Regions from separate parts of the Homo sapiens genome. Here region 2 is linked to region 1. The links are contacts of gene promoters, found by promoter capture Hi-C in blood cells and fetal thymus (Javierre and others, 2016). All regions are on one chromosome and are shown on one strand. The core of a region is centred on a gene start or on the middle of the fragment in contact, and the rest is flanking DNA. Distances in the headings are between cores, read along the strand shown.

Region 1 (6,140 bases), core at 912-3,411:
GGAAGTATAGGCCTGTAAGGACATTACCAGCATACTCTTCTTCTCTTGATGCATTTAAAAAAATGAGTATGTGTAGAGTGTTTCCTTGATCCATGTTGAACTTTAATTTTATTGTTATTTATTGGAAGCTACTCATTCTTATATTAATCTCAGAAAGGCATTAGCTATGTTTTGCTCTGGTCTTGCTTTAATTCTAGGCTTATGCAGTAGGCAAGTTAGATTTCTAAGGGATGATGGAGGAATAAATGGCTCTAGCATTCTACCAATTTGGTATCCTCTTTAGGCCACCAATGAACTTGGTAACTAATTGTTGTTTTCCACCAGCCTTGCAATGCAACACAGCTTTGCAATTTTATTTTTTTGAGGCTACTAAAGCTTCCTGTATCTGCAAAATTAAACTAAAAGAAACAAGAACCGGAGTTGTATATAAAGAGAGAACAGAGAATACCAAGCTTAACTTTGTCCTTGTAGAAGTATTGATTAGTCTGGTTAATGCTGTACTAGACATCAAGGAAAAACCCGACTTTCTTTCTTAGATCCCTCATAGCCTCATAGAGACCAGCCCTCTACAAATCAAGACTTGAAAAGTTATTCAGCATATTCCCTCATGTCAAAAACTGTAGCTGGGAAACTAGGTAGGCGGGAACAGAATCTGCCTGGTGTTGGAGAGGATGTATTAATATAAATAATAAACACAAAACATGAATTGTAGAAGGTTGCAAATAGAGGAAAACTTCAGACACCAAAAGGATCAAAAAACATAAAAAGAAACAGATACAATTTTTAAATTGTAACTTGTTGTCTAGTGCAATGATAAAAGCTATCCACGAATACAGCGATTTTAGAAAGTTAAATTTTACATGCAGTGCTACTAAAATACCAAAGGCCATACATAATGTCTGACCCAAGCTGCCACCTCATATAGCAACTTCTTACATGGGGGCTTTAAAAAGATTGTTTGACTGGTCTACTGTCCTGCAGTGTCAGGAGACGGCTTTGTCTGACATATTGAATTTCCAGTGTCTCTCACACTTCCTCCTTTTCAGATGCACAAAAGGTTTTTGTAAAGTTTCTCTTGGTTTTACCGCTGGCAGCTACAGAAACCATGCCACAAGTCTGGTGTAGAGTTATAGGGTGTGATTTTATTTGACTGGTATCTTCAGAGCTTCTGGATTTTTCAGTATAACCGAGAATTTCCTTAAGAGCTGTAAATAAAAATCGGTACCAGTTCGAACCCTTTACTGGCCCGGTTTTGTGTGAGGTTGGCTGGCTGCTGTAGCACGTTCTCCCCCTCCTCCTCCTCCTGCACCCCCTCGGTTCCCTCCTCTGCCTGCGGGAATACCACTTCAGGGCGTTCAGCAGCCTTCCCAGGGTGGGTCCTGGCCTAGTACCCTAAAACTATAACCGAGAATACCTATCATTGGGCAGCCTAGGAAACGCGACTGGGACTTTTAGTAGGGGCCCCTCACCGCTCTGAAGCACTCACACTTGAGTCAGGGAACATGGGTTTGAATCCCCACCCGGCCGTTTATCTTGTGCTCTTGGGCACACTGTGTCCCCTATATAAAATAAGCACCCATCTCTTCATCTGTCTCCTAGGCCTGCGACGATGCAATGACTGCACGCAAAGCGCACATTCACGGTCAGGTCACTTCTGGCGTCCGGCTGTGGTCCCCGCAGGGTGCCCGCCGGCGGAGCGCATCCTCCGGCAGGGGGCGAGCTCCGCACCCCGCTTTCCTCATGGGCCGGCGCGGCCCGCCGTTCAAGTGGGGAGCCCAGAGGTGCTCCGCGCCGTGGGCGGGGGGCGGTTGGCGCGCACAAGGCCGGACTCCGGCGGGGCGCACCTCCACACGCACCCTCGCGGGCAGCGGGTCGGAGTCGGGGCCTCGGGCCGGCTGGGGGCGGGGCATGGGCGCGGCGCGCGGGGCCCGGAACGCCGAGACAATGCGGCGCGCGGCGGCCAGGAACGGCTCGGCGGGCCGGGGCGCGCGCCGCCTTCCTTCCTGCGGGATCCGCTTCCCGGCGGCGCGGCAGCGGCGAGCGCGCCGATTGGCGGCCCGGTCCTCCCGCCGCCCCGCCCCACGCCCGGCCGGCCGCCGCCCCCGGCCCGGACCCGCCCCTCTCCGCGGGAGGCGTCGGGGCCCGCGGCTGGGTGGCGGGTAGTTCCCGCCGGCTGTGCGCGCCCGCCTCGGGGCTCGCTCTGAGAGGACGCGGCGGCAGCGGACTCGGAGCCCTCGGCGCGCAGGCGGGCGGACCGGCCGAGCTGCGCGGGGCTGCGCGCCGCCCCTGCTCCGCCGCCAGGCCCCGCGCGGCTCCCGCGCCCGGCGCTCCCCTTTGTCCGCGGGCCGGAGCGGCGGCGGCAGCGGCGGTGTCCGAGCGGCGGTCGGAGCCTGCTGCGGCAGTTGAGGCGGCGGCGCCCCTGCGGCTGTGCGCCAGCGCCCTCGCGCCGAGGCGATGCCGGACCAGATCTCCGTGTCGGAATTCGTGGCCGAGACCCATGAGGACTACAAGGCGCCCACGGCCTCCAGCTTCACCACCCGCACGGCGCAGTGCCGGAACACTGTGGCGGCCATCGAGGAGGTGAGGCGGCCTGCGCGGCGGCTCCGGCCGCAGGTATCCCGCGCCCCAGCCCCGCCCGCCGCTCCCGCATCCGCATCCCGAGAAAACTTTCTTTGCTCCGAAGCCGGACGCGGCCGGGCCAACCCTGCCCGAGACAGAAGCCCTTTGTTCCCGCCTAGGTGGCTCGGAGGAGATGGGTGATGGCCACCTTGGGCCTCTTTAAGACCTCCCCTCTCTCGGCCTCGTGGCCCTCGCGGGGTTCCGCGGCCTGGTCTTTTCCCCGCAGCGCGGCCAACTTTGTCCAGAGTCGGGGTCCGCGGCGAGCGGGGGATCCCGCTGCCCGCCGCCGCCCGCCGCCGCCCGGGGTCTTTGGTACCCGGTGCGGACCTTATCAACTTGTTCTTGAAGTGGACCGGCGGGGGCAGCTCCGCGCTCCGAGCTCCCCGCCGCAGCCCCCGAGCGCCGCAGGGCCCCCACCCTCGGGTCCGCGGGTCCGGGGCATCCCGGGCTGCCCGGGAAGGCGTGCCCGCCTCAGCCAGGGCGGCCTGGCTGCGCTCCACCCGTGCCCGGAGAAGGAACTGCGGGCAAGGTGTGTGAGAGTCGGCGCTTCTGGGTCCAAGAAGCCTCCAGGAGCCGCTCCCCGGTTACCTGGGTCTCACCTGCTTGAACCCGGAATGCCGCCCTTCCCCCTCAACCTGGAAAAGGCCTGGTTTTAGTAAAGTGCTCTCAAGGTGCAAAGTCATCACGCCTAGCTGCTAAGCAGTACGCTCTCCAGGTCCTGGGGAGAGGAACACGTAGGAACGAAGAAGCTTGGTTGAAAATTAAAGCCGTGGGGAAAGGGGCAGAGTCTGTGAGTCCAGGGGCCACCGTTGGCTGTGGTTTGAGGCACATCCTCACCTGCAGTCCTCCTTTTCCTTACCCATCAAACGGGATTAGTAATGCATCCTTTCCAGGATCAGAGACTGTGTGAAGTGCTTAGCACTCTGCTCGGCTCAGAATAGGTTTACAAGTCACACGTGTGGCAATAGTGAATCTGTGATTAAATGTCTCTGGGCCAGGATGTCAGGTTACAGTTTTAAAATTGGGTATTGCAGGTGTTTTAGCAGAAGACGCCTGGGCTAGCAGGAGTGTGTGTGTGGGTGGGGGGGTGGGTGTCACCAAAGAGCTTTAAATGAAGCAATGGCGTTATTTTTTTTTTCTGGTTTTTTTTTTTTTTTCCCATTTGAACAAAGCATCTGCTATTAGGAATTGCTTGAAAAAAAATCCAGAATGTTTTCCCTTAATGGAAAAATTTTTTCTTTGTAGCTGTAAACAGTCAATAAAAGGGAGTCAAAAGTAACATTCAGCATTCTGAATCCTGTTAATATAACTTGGGTAGCCTTCCTTCTCTCCATTTAATTTGGCGGAAGAGAGCTGCATGTAAACCTTTCCTATGAATTCGGTGATTCCCCAGATCACTTAATTCTACTTTTAGCAGCAAGGCTTACAGATGATGCCTTCAAATGAGGCAGATGGGGATGGGTGAATGAAATTTTTTCCTAAGTGCCAGTTAAAAAGCACGGTGTTTTGAGAATACACCATTAATAATGTTTATGGAATGATTGCAACCAAAAAGGTAGCTGAATATTTCTTAAGGGAAGGAAGCATTGTGCATGATGTCTTTCTTTAGAAAGCTTGATTATGTTTAAAGTTCTGTTGCTTTTCCCCACTGCAGTTTGTCAGTTAAATATTATTAACACTGGCAGATGTTGGAAAGCCAAGCAAACAAGAATTGCTATTAAAATTGGCATACCTTTCTCTGATTAATTTTAGTTTACAGTGTATAATTCCAAAGCTCTTTTTGTATGCTGTGCAGGAGATTACCCTAGAGCTCAGTTACTGAGCAGATTACAAAGAGACTGGATTTGGTCATTTCATTAAATTGCAAGCTTGCTTCATGCTGCCGTCTAAGCCCAAGAATTGGTTCAAGTCTCAAAATGGAAAAATTAAAATCATTTCAGGTTTATTTCACTTTAAGCAAATCTACATACATGCTATGATGATGGTATGTGTGAGCTTGGTTTTATAACTAAATTTGAAAGTTGTTCACTTTCTGAGGTAAATCAATGTGGATTTCTTTAAATAATGCTCTTTCCCAGGTGTCTAATGTTCGTGTCTATTACCAAAACTTGTTCTATGTATGGTTTAATAACAATTGATGTGTACAGTATTTTGGTTTTAAACAAAAATCTTCTCATACTGAGACGAAACATGAGAGGGTATCATGACATAAAGTTACTCATTTAACAAATAAATAAAATTTGCAAGCTCTTGGTCTTATGTTTAAACAAATGAATCACGGAACTAGCAAACTAATTTTATATTTATTTATTTATTTGTTACGGAGTTTTGCTCTTGTTGCCCAGGCTGGAGTGCAATGGCACAATCTTGGCTCACTGCATCCTCTGCCTCCCAGGTTCAAGCGATTCTCCTGCCTCAGCCTCCCAAGTAGCTGGGATTACAGGCATGCGCCACCATGCACAGCTAATTTTTTGTATTTAGTAGAGATGGGGTTTCACCATGTTGGTCAGGCTGGTCTCGAACTCCTGACCTCAGGTGATCCACCTGCCTCAGCCTCCCACAGTGCTGGGATTACAGGCGTGAGCCACCACACCCGGCCAGCAAACTAATTTTAAACTGATTAACCTTTTTGAATCTGTTATTTCCAATGTAGGTTCTATCTGCCAAAGAATCATTTTACAATTAAAATGTGCTGTTTTGATTTGCATACTTGTTGCTGGAATATTATTATAGTAACTGTTGGGCCCTTATCCTGTACTATGAAACTCACAGGTATTGAATTCAGTCCTTATCTCTGCTTTATAGGCGAGGAAATTGAGGCTCAGAGAGGTTAAGTAATTTGCCAAAGGTTATAGAGCTCTGAAGTGGACTTTGAACTTGGCTCCTGCTGTTTTCAGAAACCATGCTGCTTCCTGTTACTTTTCTTAATGCCGAATTCTCTAAATTACTCCTTTGTCAGATTGACCTGGGTTCAAGTTCAGGCTCTACAGCTTGCCAGCTGAGTGAACTTGAGTGAGATGCCTAACATTTTCTTATTTTCCTCAGCTTTAAAGTCTGGTTAATAATACCTATCAACTTCAGAGGATTGTGGTGAGGGTTTAGGAAGATAGTACATAGCACAGAAGCTGCCAGACAATTAGTTACCAGATTATATAGTTAGTGAGTCCACAGGCCCCAGTGAGGGCTTTTGGAGTGAGGATGGGATTTACATGGGGGGAAGTGTCAGGGAAATGGATGAATGGCTGAATGGGTGAGTGAATGAAACACTACCGTGTATCTGTTAACCCATGTGTTTTTTTTTTTGAGATGGAGTCTCGCTCTGTCGCCCAGGCTGGAGTGCAGTGGCTCGATCCCCACTCACTGCAAGCCCCGCCTCCCAGGTTCATGCCATTCTCCTGCCTCAGCCTCCCGAGTAGCTGGGACTACAGGTGCCCGCCACCATGCCCGGCTAATTTTCTGTATTTTTAGTAGAGATGGGGTTTCACCGTGTTAGCCAGGATGGTCGATGGTCTAGATCTCCT
Region 2 (6,140 bases), core at 1,140-3,639, 92 kb after region 1:
GGCTGCCCTGTTGTGCCTGTAAATAGTTGTGTTATATTTCCAGTTGAACTGATGAAAACATAGAAATTAGGTAGCCATGCAGATAGAAGTTGTTTTATTATAGACTGGCTGGTTTCCTTTGAAAGTGCCTGACCTAGAAGTGAGGGAATTATATTCAACCACATTAATTTACCAGAATCACCTGTGTCCCCTCCCCCATTCCTACCCACGGTTTAAATCAGAGGTCTGAGATGGGACGGTGGTGTCTAGAGTTTGGTGAAAATCCATGCATGCATTTGGCGTCCAGCAGGGATTGAGAACCACTGTGCCAGAGACCCAGAGTCCAGATTTTCACTCTTTCAGGTGCTACTTTGAGGCCTAATGATAGTAAAATGCCATGAGATGTAAGCACCTGGTATGTTTTTTCTGCTCAAACAACATGTGTGTTGTCTAATATTTCAGGCACACGACTTCGTCGAAGATGAATACAACTTAGTCTGTCAACTCTAAGCACATCCGATGTATGGGGAACACATTTGCCAGACTATTTCAATATAACATGCTGAGTGCAAGGATAGGAGAGGTGCCAATGAAATACCCAGGGTGTAGGGCAGAGTCATGGAAGGCTTCCTGGAGGAAGCATGAGTCTGTAGGATGCAGAGGAGTTTGGGAGGGAAGGGCCCCTGGGTAGAGGCTGCATCCTGAGCAGAGGCACTGGAGCTGCAAAGACCACTGCTGTTGCTGTATTAAAAGGAGAAGGAGCTGCTGTGTGGGGCTCTGAATCAGAGTCCTGGGCTGCAGGCTAGAGAGGAATGGGGCATCTGTGGTTGAGTTTCTGGGAGGGGGCTGAGTCTGGTGAGTTGTGCCATCATTTGGTGAAGGAAGAGTCCTCGGAGAGGTGGAAATGTTGTGTGTCCTTGGCCATCTCATCTGATATGCTGAGGACCACTGGACGTGGGCAAGGGCTTCCCCTCTTGCATACCACACTTGTTCTTTGGGATCTGTTGCCGGCACCACGGGTTGTTGTTGGGATAACGAAGCTATTTCTGTTCCTGGTGCAGCTTGACTTTTCTCAGATTTTTCTTCTGCTGATGTGTTCAGTGTTATTCACAACCGAGAAGAACCTGGTGGGGAGTGAGGGTGGCATGCCTGAGACTCACAGCACCTCCGTCATTCTGTTGCAGCTCACGTGGAAAATGAAGAGCAGTACACCCAGGCTCTGGAGAAGTTTGGCGGCAACTGTGTATGCAGAGATGACCCAGATTTAGGAAGTGCGTTCCTGAAGTTCTCAGTGTTTACAAAGGAGTTGACAGCACTTTTCAAAAACCTGGTAAGCAGCTCTGTGTATGAAATGCTGCGGTTACTTCAGTTGGGAAAGTGGCTCAGTAGAGGATAGTTATGGTTTGTTTGATAAACTAGGAATGCATTTCATAGTTCCTTGGGTACCCAAAAGAATTATGTTTTTATACACATTGGGTCAGTTTGGAATAAAGTTTAAAATTGTAATTTTTACTTTAACAAGACTTAAAATTCAGCTCTGCAATTTAAATGTACACAGCTATGGGACAAAATGGGTAAATGCATTCGTCTTCTTAAGGGCCTCTGACTTGAATTTTTAACAGTTTCTAAACTGTGTAGACTACTCTCCTTCTGGTAATTATAGTAGGCATTTAAGCTTATAATATTTAATAAATATGTTTCAGGCCCATCTTACACAGCAAGGTAACCTGTAATCAAAGCACAGAAATTACCATGAATATTTAAAGGCCTTTTGTGCTCCCAAGTGTAGAACCTAAAAAAAAGCAGGACTGAGAGCAATGCCTCGGTTTTCAGCCGTGGGAATGCGGTGCTGGTGCCTGCTGCCTGTGGCTGCTGCTTGGTGCTGTGGGTGAATTGCGCCTTTCTTGTGCCTGGCAGCTCTGTGCTATCCTCGTGATGGGGACAACATTTTGAAGAAGTGGGCAGCCCAAGAGGGCTGTTTGGGACCCTGCCCGGGTGGAATGGACCCTGGGATCGCTCCAGCTTTTCTTTCCTGTTTTTCTTCTCCAGTTTCTCCTAAAGGTCAGGGAAGGCCAGGTCAAGAACTCAGTAATGCTTTCTCTGTAGGCCACACACAACAGCATCTTTTTCGTGTCCTCTGTTAGGAAGCTCATAACAAGTGAAAAACATAGCTCATTCCTGAGATGGTGATGACAGTGGTTTTGGGAGACCGGCCTTAGAAGGGGAGAAATGAGGGAGCATCACATGTGAGTTCCTAATGGGAAGGGGAAGAGCAGGAGCACTCGGGCCCTTGCTCTTTCTCCCCGTCTTCACTTATGAACATTTCTGTAGGAAATGGTAAAAGTAAAAAACTGTTTCTCTGCTCGAGCTTTTCACTTAGAGGAATTTGAAATCCCCTGGGGCTTTGGTCAAGCTCATCCCCCTTCATCCTTATCCTAGAGTGGCGGCCCACCTGCTCAGCAGTGGAGCCCTCGCCCTGCCTCAGCCCCATGCCCTGGACACTGGCAGGCATGCATGGTGGGGTCTCATCACCAGGTCGGGAAAGAGTGGAGATTTTTTTTAAACTGGAGAAACTGCATGGGCCCAGGGTAAAGATCCGTAGATGCTGCCATGGAGGGCGTCTCCTGGTAGAAAAGTCAGTTGGCTGCCTGCTCTCCCCGCACCTGGGTGGATAAGCCCTTTCCATGCACACAGAGCTGCCTGTTAGCTTCCTGGTGCCTCACACTTCAGTACAGATGAGCAGCCTCCAGCATGAGGGAGACCAGAAATAGCAGAAAAATGAACGTACGGGAAGACTGGGATGCAGCATGCTATGAAAGAAGGCCAGGGACACAACTATGGTAAGAAAATATAACATTAAAAATCCAACAGGAAGGGCTGGAGTAGAGGAAATCTCTCAGAAAATAGATCAAAAAGACCAAAAAGTGGGAAATAGATAAAAGACGAGGATTAATTCTCAAGGCCCAGCATCCAACTGGCAGGTGTTTTAGAAAGAGAGAAGGTTGTCATCAATGCAACAAATCTAAAGGCAATTTCTAAAAATGGAACGGAAGAGTCTCCAAGTTGAGAGGCTCACAAGTACCCAGCGCAATAAGGGAAAAGACCTACCCTGAGGCATCCCTGTGTGAACTTGCAAAAGATCTTAAAAGCTTCCAGACAGCAGCCGGAGGATTCAGAATCAGAATGGTGGTGAACTTCTCAGCAGCAGCACTGGAAACGTTATGGCATGGAGCAATGCCATTAAAATCGTGAGGAAACTAACTCAGCCTGGAATGATGCCCAGCCAATCAAAGACGAGAGTAGAATTAAAGATATTTTCAGACATGCAAGGCTTAAAAACTTTGGCTCCCATGTGTCATTTCTCTGAAACTCCTAAAGGATGTGTTTTAGTAAAATGAAGGGAAAAGCCAAGAAAGAAGAAATTGAGAGTCAGGAAACAGGACCCAACACAGGAAAGCAAGCAGTGGAAGGGAATTCCAAGAGGATCATGGCGAAGGGAAGTCCCAGCGGGGCTGCCAAGCAGGGGGCCTAGAAAGCAGCCAGCCCAGGACGGCTGACGACGTAGGAGACGGGTGGAGGCCCGGGTTCTGCTTCTCACTCCCAGACTGCCCTTTTACCTTTATTCAGCTGATATCTAGACCTGGATTGTCTCAGCTGTAACATGGAGATAATAATACCATACCTGATTGTGTGGATAGATTATAGCCAGCCGGTGACTCTTACACAGGATAGCTTACTTAATTCTTATGACAATCCCATAAGGTCAGTCAATGTCATCCCCACTTTACAGATTAGATAACTGAGGCCCTGAATGGTTTGAAGAGCTAATATCTGGCCCGGCACAGTGGCTCACATGTGTCATCCCAGCACTTTGGGAGGCCAAGGTGGGCGGGTTGCTTTGAACCCAGGAGTTCAAGACCAGCCTGGGCAACATGGGGAACCCCTGTTTCTACAAAAAAATACAAAACTTAGCCAGGCGTGGTGGCTCACGGCTGTAGTCCCTGCTACTCGGGAGGCTGAGGCTGAAGAATTGCTTAAGCCCAGGAAGCGGAGATTGCAGTGAGCTGACATCACGCCCCTGTACTCCACCTGGGCGACAGAGAGTGAGACCCTGTCTCAAAAACAAAAGAAGCAGCAGCTAATATCTCTCTTGGGAGGCTCAGAGTCCTTGCCTAGGCAGGCCCACTTGGAGCACTCCACACCATGGAATCCGGACGAAACTAACTTGTCTCAGTTAACAAAAGGGCAGCTGCATAGTTAAATAAAAGGAATCCCTCCTTCTCCTTTATAAAATTTCCTGCAAAAGCAGAAAGCAGAGCAGGGCCTGCATGTTACAGCTGGTACATTGCTCACCACCCTGTGGCTTTGCCAGTTTTTAATACTTCACATATCACTGCAGGTCCTAGTTGCTGTCCAGCTTTCTACAGAGAGTAAAGGTATCAATAAAGGTATCTGTGGCAGTGATTTGATGAGCACCCACCGGTGTAGCAATCACTGGGCTATGCATGAAGGATACTCTGTTTCATTTATTCCTCTTGGCAGCTGTGCAGGATAGTTTGTATCACCATCCTCTTAAGGCACACAGTCACTTACAGGGCCCTTAGCTAGTGAGGGACAGAGTTGGGATTCAAACCCAGGTATTAACACTCCAAACCCAAGTTGTTGTCATTGTGACATTTAAAGGAACCATGGCCTCTTGTCACCTTCTTGACTGATCATAAGGGTTCAAGTTTCAACTTGCACTTTATGGAAGTCGGATTGTTGATCCTATTTCCTGGCAAAGATCAAAGAGAGAGAAAATTTCTTACATGAGCCAAAATTAGCACTCACCATGCCTGGTTTTCCAGGCCAGCGCCGGTGTGGAAGCTGCACAGCCAGAGGAAGGCCCAGTGGCGGCTCCTGCAAAGCTGGGCAAATGGGGAGCGGATTATGGCGGAAGTCTCCTTTTTTGGAATTTTGTGCACCATTCTTCTTCCTGTTTTTGGTCACATCTGGCTTATCTCATATCTTCCAAGCCTTGCTTTTGCTTTCCCTCGGGCATTTAAAACATTTCAGTTCTGTCTGGCTAAGACTCACAGTGCTACCTCTTGTCCAGAAAGAATAACAATTACCACCTACCTGCTTGGAGGCGTGAAAGAATGTTTATAAAGCAGTTGGAAGATCTCCAGAGAAATGCCAGCTTAATATAAAGCAAGATTTTCTTACTAATGGGTGAGATTCTCACCTGCAGAAGTCTGTGAATTTTCTCTGCGGTGATGCAGGATGAAAGGGAAAACCAGACGGCTCCAGAAATGTGACATGTGTGAAATTAAAGTGCTTATGAAGTCAGCCTAGTTTCAGGGGTTCTTTTCCTCTTCCCCAATGGATGTGAGAATCCTGGAAAGACTCCAAGGGCCACCTCTGTGCTGAGAAGTGGCTTTCTAATGAAAGGCTGCATTTCAGGGCAGGTTTCTGAAAGGTTTGTTACAGATATGTAGTCTCTGTCTCCAGTGTTAGAGGATTGTTAGTGAAAGATGTCCTCACGGTCTGCAGAACCCGCTCCACATGAAGATCAGCATCCATTGAAAGCAGGAGCCAATGGGTGCTGAGGAGAGGACAGAGTTGCAGCATGAGATCTGAGGTGACCCTGGGCTAAGGAGTTTTCCCTCACCCATGTTGATAGAGGAAATGGAAAGCTCTACCAAGCAACGTGTGTATCCATCATCTTTTTTTTTTTTTTTTTTTTTGAGACGGAGTCTCGTTCTGTTGTCCAGGCTGGAGTGCAGTGGCACAATCTCAGCTCTCTGCAAGCTCTGCCTCCCAGGTTCATGCCATTCTCCTGCCTCAGCCTCACATGTAGCTGGGACTACAGGTGCCCACCGCCATGCCCGGCTAGTTTTTGGTATTTTTAGTAGAGATGGGGTTTCACCACGTTAGCCAGGATGGTCTCGATCTCCTGACCTCGTGATCCACCCGCCTTGGCCTCCCAAAGTGCAGGGATTACAGGCGTGAGCCACCGCGCCCGGCCTTTTTTTTTTTTTTTTTCCCAAACACAGATGATGTGAGTTAGAAGCCTTTTTTTTTTTTTTTTTTTTTGAGACGGAGTCTCGCTCTGTCGCCCAGGCTGGAGCGCAGTGGTGCAGTCTTGGCTCACTGCAGCCTCTGCCTCTCGCGTTCAAGCG

The links. Contacts are between HindIII fragments. The CHiCAGO score rates a contact against its expected background, and 5 or more counts as called.
Region 2: a contact is called between a fragment that was not itself captured here and the fragment with the promoter of ASAP2 in region 1, in 2 of 17 cell types (endothelial precursors and megakaryocytes). The highest score is 7.0, in endothelial precursors.

The regions. Positions count from the first base shown.
Region 1 is chr2:9,204,651-9,210,790 of GRCh38, forward strand. It overlaps ASAP2 (ArfGAP with SH3 domain, ankyrin repeat and PH domain 2), which reads left to right and starts at 2,162. Exons shown (of 28, transcript NM_003887.3): 1 at 2,162-2,580. The coding sequence starts at 2,455. RefSeq lists enhancers at 1,311-2,243, 2,244-3,174 and silencers at 1,692-1,951, 1,698-1,881. The HindIII fragment of the contact is 2,916 bases long and covers 451-3,366 here.
Region 2 is chr2:9,296,137-9,302,276 of GRCh38, forward strand. ASAP2 (ArfGAP with SH3 domain, ankyrin repeat and PH domain 2) reads left to right here. Exons shown (of 28, transcript NM_003887.3): 3 at 1,164-1,309. Among named protein-coding and RNA genes, the nearest start is that of ASAP2, 92 kb to the left of the region's middle. RefSeq lists an enhancer at 3,516-4,015. The HindIII fragment of the contact is 1,474 bases long and covers 1,653-3,126 here.